2 separate regions of the Homo sapiens genome follow, and region 1 is linked to region 2. Evidence: promoter capture Hi-C in 16 types of primary human blood cells and fetal thymus (Javierre and others, 2016). All regions are on one chromosome and are shown on one strand. Each heading gives the region's core, a stretch centred on a gene start or on the middle of the fragment in contact. The rest is flanking DNA. Distances are from core to core; before and after follow the strand shown. Region 1 overlaps LAMA3 (laminin subunit alpha 3). Region 2 holds the start of ANKRD29 (ankyrin repeat domain 29).

What was found. The method cuts DNA at HindIII sites, captures the fragments that hold promoters and counts their contacts. A CHiCAGO score of 5 or more calls a contact.
Region 1: a fragment that was not itself captured here is called in contact with the fragment with the promoter of ANKRD29 in region 2 in 2 of 17 cell types (M1 macrophages and M0 macrophages); the score reaches 5.1 in M1 macrophages.

Annotation. Positions count from the first base shown.
Region 1 is chr18:23,785,351-23,788,130 of GRCh38, forward strand. All of the region lies in intron 12 of LAMA3 (laminin subunit alpha 3), which reads left to right. Among named protein-coding and RNA genes, the nearest start is that of LAMA3, 97 kb to the left of the region's middle. The HindIII fragment of the contact is 1,607 bases long and covers 500-2,106 here.
Region 2 is chr18:23,661,360-23,664,196 of GRCh38, forward strand. It overlaps ANKRD29 (ankyrin repeat domain 29), which reads right to left and starts at 1,552. Exons shown (of 10, transcript NM_173505.4): 1 at 1,351-1,552. The coding sequence starts at 1,371. The HindIII fragment of the contact is 8,557 bases long and covers 1-1,908 here.

The sequences.
Region 1 (2,780 bases), core at 53-2,552, 120 kb after region 2:
ACACTAAGGAACTGTAAGCATGAAAAACTCCCTCCCCTAAGCTGGAGGACAAGGTAGTGAAGAGCAGGGGTGGCACTAGCTATCAACTTGGGCAAGTTACTTAACCCCTCTGTTCCTCAGTTTCCAAAAAATAGTGCCTGTCTCATAATTCATTGTTGTGAGGGTTACATATGTACTGACAGGTAAAGCTCTTAGAACTGAGGAAGTAATTGTTCATAAGTTAGCTATTCACTTGCACCTTTCTTCTCCTGACCTATACTTCCCTCTGCATCATTTTAAGAGCTTGTAGTCCCATTTCCAGCCATCTCCCTGTTTGTTTAAATGCCTGAATCCCATACCCCAAACCTTTCCTTTACCTGCTGGCTCCTGGTGTGCAAAACATTCTTGTGGCTGAAAATATATCAAAGGGTTTCTTTTTTTCCTCCTCTCTACCAGCCACAACTTCAGATTCATTCTGGTAGAATGAATTACAAATATTCTAACTTATTCATATGGACAAAGCTTGTGTTTATGGATACAAAGATAATGAATAAATAATACAACACTTTAAGAATGCTCTTTTCCACATTTCTCCACTACTAGAGCTAATTTATTTTAAGGTAGGTAGAAAATGCATGAATGTATTCATGACAAAGCAGAGGGGAGGAAGGACTTCCATAACAACAGAGGAGGGAGGTTGGTAGATACTCTTTTCAGTAAAACAGAAATTAACCAGTGAAAATATTTTAAAAAATTGTTTGAAGTCTCTGTTAATGGTCATAAGAGCATATAGCAAATGAAGAAACAATTACTTAAGAAAATTTGAATCTAGGTAAGAAATGAGAGTCTCTGTGACATTTCAGCCATGACCCCCTTCATTATCCATCCCCAAATCTGTTTTATAGAAGATCTACCCATATGTGTTGCCAAGAAGATGGGCACTCTCTTTATCCTGTGCCCCAGTTTGGGGCTATGGTTTGTTTCATTTTGGGAGGGGAAGGCCACTGATATTTCTCAACCTTCTGCAGTCCTGTATAGCAGAAGCCCTATTCCAGGTGGGCTCAGCAAAGAGGACCAGCTCTCTCTTACCCACCACCCCTCCACTTGTAGGGTAGTAGCTCTAACTTAGGCACTTCAGGCTGAGAATTCTGGGATCCCAATCAACCCTACCCAAGCTGGCTCATAGAGTAGGGATCTATGGTGGGAGAGGAAAACTGAGAAGACCATGGCGCCACCTCCACCTGTGTCCACTTGTAGAGCATAGCAGAATTTCAAAGAAAGAGGGAAGTGTGACCCATACATAGGGGAAGAAGAAGACAATAGAAACCACTTTTGAATGAGCCAGATGGTAGTCTTAGCAGACTTTAAAGCAGCTATTATAAATCTGTATAGAAGACTAAAGGAAATCATGGTTAATGAATTAAAGGAAGGTATGATGACAACATCTAATTGAATAGAGAATATCAATAAAGAGATAGAAATTGTTTTACAAAATAACCAAATGGAACTTTTGGAGTTGAAAAGTATAATAACTGAAATGAAAAATTCACTAAAGTGGCTCAACAGTAAATTGAGCTAGCAGAAGAAAGAATCAGCAAACTTAATGACAGATTGATAGAGATTGTGCAGTCTGAAAACAGAAAGAAAAAAAGAATGAAAATAAATAAACAGGCCGGGGGCAGTGGCTCATGCCTGTTATCTCAGCACTTTGGGAGGCCAAGAGGGGTGGATCACTTGAAGTAAGGAGTTTGAGATCAGCCTGGCCAACATGGTGAAACCCCGTCTCTACTAAAAATACAAAAATTAGCCAGGCATGGTGGCAGGCGCCTGTAATCCCAGCTACTTGGGAGGCTGAGGCAAGAGAATTGCTTGAACCTGGGAGGCAGAAGTTGCAGTGAGCCAAGATCGCACCATTGCCCTCCAGCCTGGGTGACAAGAGTGAAACTCTGTCTCAAATAAATAAATAAATAAACAGAACCTGAAAGAAATATGGGATACCATTAAGCACAACATATGGGTAATGAGAGCATCAGAAAGAGAGGAGAAAAAGGAATAGAAAAAAATAGCCAAAGAAATAATGGTGGAAAACTTACTAAATTTAATGAAAAGCCATCTATACAGCTAAGAAGCTTAATGAACTCCAAATAGCATAAATACAGAGGGATCCACACAGCCAGACATATTATAGTTAAAATCATAATTAAAATTTTGAAAGACAAAGACAAAGAGAAAATCTTGAAAGCAGGAAAAAAAAGACTCATTATGAACACAGGAACACCAGTTAGAATAACAACTGACTTCTCATTAGTAACAATAGAGGCAAGAAGGCAGTGAGAGCGTATATTCTAAGTGCTGAAAGTGGAAAAACTGTCAACCAAGAATCTCCTATCCATCAAAATTACTATTCATGATCAAGGCTAAGTAAAGACTTTCTCAGATGAACAAAAACTAACAGAATTCACCCAACCTGACTTATAAGAAATAATAGACATAATAAAGGATGTTCTTAAAGCTGAAACAGGTACCATCAAATAATAATTTGAATAACATGTAAAAATTACAAAAGAGAGTATAATTGAATATTTTTATACATTCTTCTCTTGACTGATTTTAACAGAAAGTATACGAACTGTATATACAAATACATACATACATACATAAATATGGGGCCTATATCATATAAAAATGTAATATGTTTGACAGTAGCACAAAGGAGATAGGTGAGAACAAAGCTGTATTGGAGTAAGAAAATGACACCAAATCTATAGGAAGAAATAAAGAGAACTAGAAAGGATAAATAG
Region 2 (2,837 bases), core at 302-2,801:
ACGTTTTATCTTTATCTCTCTTGCCTTCCCTACTGAATTATGCCGATTTAAAACTTTTAAAGTCGGCCGGGCGTAGTGGCTCACGCCTTTAACCCCAGCACTTTGGGAGGCCAAGGAGGGTGGATCACCTGAGGTCAGGAGTTCGAGACCAGCCTCGCCAACATGGCAGAACCCCGTCTCTACTAAAAATACGAAAAAATTAGCTGGGCATGGTGGCGCACGCCTGTAATCCCAGCTACTCTGGAGGGTAAGGAAGGAGAAATAGCTTGAACCCGGGAGGCGGAAGTTGCAGTGAGCTGAGATCACACCATTGCACTCCAGCCTGGGCAACAAGAGCAAAACTCCGTCTCAGGAAAAAAAACTTTAAAGTCATTCACATTCGTCTGCTTCGTTCCATTCTCACCACCTATGCACTGGTCCAGTACCATTTCTTAAAAAGATGACAACATCTTCCAGCTCCAACCCTCTTCTCCAAACCTAGCCAGAGATCTTTGCAACATGCACATCTCGCCATGTCACTCCTCTGCTTACATGAGCTATTGTCGGCAACGGGATTACAGTGGCTTAGGAGTCAGACACACTTGGGTTTCAGTCTTAACACCATAACTTATTGGCTGCAAAACCGTGGGTGAGTTAATTTCTCTATATCTTAGTTTTCTCATTTGAAAAAAAAAAAAAAAAGAGCCACGAAGAGCACCTCCCACAGGTCTCCCCCAGGGTTGAGACCATACACACCATGTCCTTGGTTCAGAGTCAGGCACATTTGAACTGTTTAATACATTTTAACTGCTATTTTTATTAAACCCTTTCAATCGAGGCAAATCAACCTCTTTCATCCTAAAATGTGGGGATTAGATGGAATGACTTTAATCAACTCTTTTGAGACAAGACACCTTTGGACCCTGAAGCCTCCCTGGGTGCTGGCCACCCCTCCGGGGAGGAGGCATCCGTGGGTGCAGCTGGTACTCCTGCATGAGGACCCAGAGGGTCAGGGTCGGGGACTCCTTCTGCTGCAGGACAGCGCTGACCCCAGGCTTCTTACCCGCCCCCGACCTGTTACCCGGCGACAGTCCCCGCCGCCCCGTCGCCGGGCACAGACTCAGCCGATCCACAGCCATGAGTGCGAAGCCTCTCAGGCAGGGCAGGCAGGCAAACCGCAAACCCACAGGGCGCACCCAGCCCCGCCGCTTCCTCCCGGGCCTCGCCCGCAGCTGGAGGAGAGAGGAAGGAGGAGGCGGCGGGCAGCGGGCAGCGCCCACCCCATCCCACCCCATCCCACCCCACCCGACCCCGCGGGCCCGGCCGCCCGAGCCCGGCCCCAGCCCTGACCCCGGAGTCCCGGTCGCTCACCTTGAAGGACATCCTGCACATGTCCGCGGCCGCCCGAGCGGGAGCCGGCGCGCTTTGGGCCCGGGGCGCCTTGTCCTCCCCGGCCCTTCACTCTCCCGGGGCTCTCGGCGTTCCGCAGAGGGGCGGCCTCCGACGCCGCGCGCTCCCGCCGCCCGGCCCGGCAGCAGCCGCCGCACACAGGGCCGGGCCGAAGGGGCGGCGCGGGGGCGCGCGCGCGCGCACACTACACATGGGGTGTCGCGTGGACGCGCTCCAGGACCTGCCACACACGCGCGTGCACAAACACCCCAAACTCCGCACGCACTGTGCACTTTCCACACACGTCCACACTTCCACACTCACTCGTCCACACACACACTCCAAACTCCACACACATTGTGCATACGCTCCACATTCCACACACACAGAGGTTCCACACACATACTTTCCACACTCACGCCCACTCACCCGCATGTACTCACACACAAACTCCATACATATCCTCCCAAATAGACTGGTCTGCCCCAGAGGACTCCCAACCTTCATTACAGCACAAATATTATAATGATGTAAAAATGAAGCTTGAGGAAAAAATTCATCCAATAGCTATTTTCGTTATAATTTCTTTCTCGGTTTCCTGGGAAACTTTTTTCTCCTGGGGAAAATATCTAGGAAACAAACCTTTTGATTGCACAAACAATAAGTGGTCTTTTCCTCTTTGAAGGGCAAAGGCCAATTTTGGAATAGACTCATACCCCTCCTCCTCCTCCGCGTTATTAATCCAGCAGTTCCCTCCTCCTCTGGGTCTGATGCTGCAGCCCTGGAGTATTGCAGTATGTGTGTCCACTCCTGCTGCCTGCCCAGGATTGGTTTGGGCGAAGTAAAACTGGGAGTTTTAAGTATAAACGGCAACAACAGCTCTTTGAGAGCATTTTAGAAAAGTGAAAGTAAAAAAGTAGCCCAGGCATAGTGGCTCACGCCTATAATCCCAACTCTTTGGGAGGCCAAAGGCGGGCAGATCACTTGAGTCCAGGAGTTCGAGATCAGACTGGCCAACATGGCAAAACTCTATCTCTACTAAAAATACAAAAATTAGCCAGGCGTGGTGGTGCGCACCTGTAGTCCCAGCTACTCGGGAGGCTGAGGTGGGAGGATCGCTTGAACCTGGGAGGTTGAGGCTGCAGTGAGCCAAGATTCGGTCACTGCACTCCAGCCTGGGCAACAGAGCAAGACTCTGCCTCAAAAATAAAAATAAAAACAAAACAAAAAAATAGTATAAAAATGGAGGTCTTACCCCCTCAAACTATAAGAATCCACTCATTCATTCTCCCCCTCCTTCCCTCTTCTCAATTAAATTTGTAACGAATATTTAATTTAAAAGGTAGAAAACAATTACAAATAAAAGTTAATGATAAAAATTAAAATGTTTAACCTTCATGGATAAATTGTATTACTTTGTGCTTAAAACAACTTTAAATTAAAAACATTCTGAACTTTTATAGAAAATT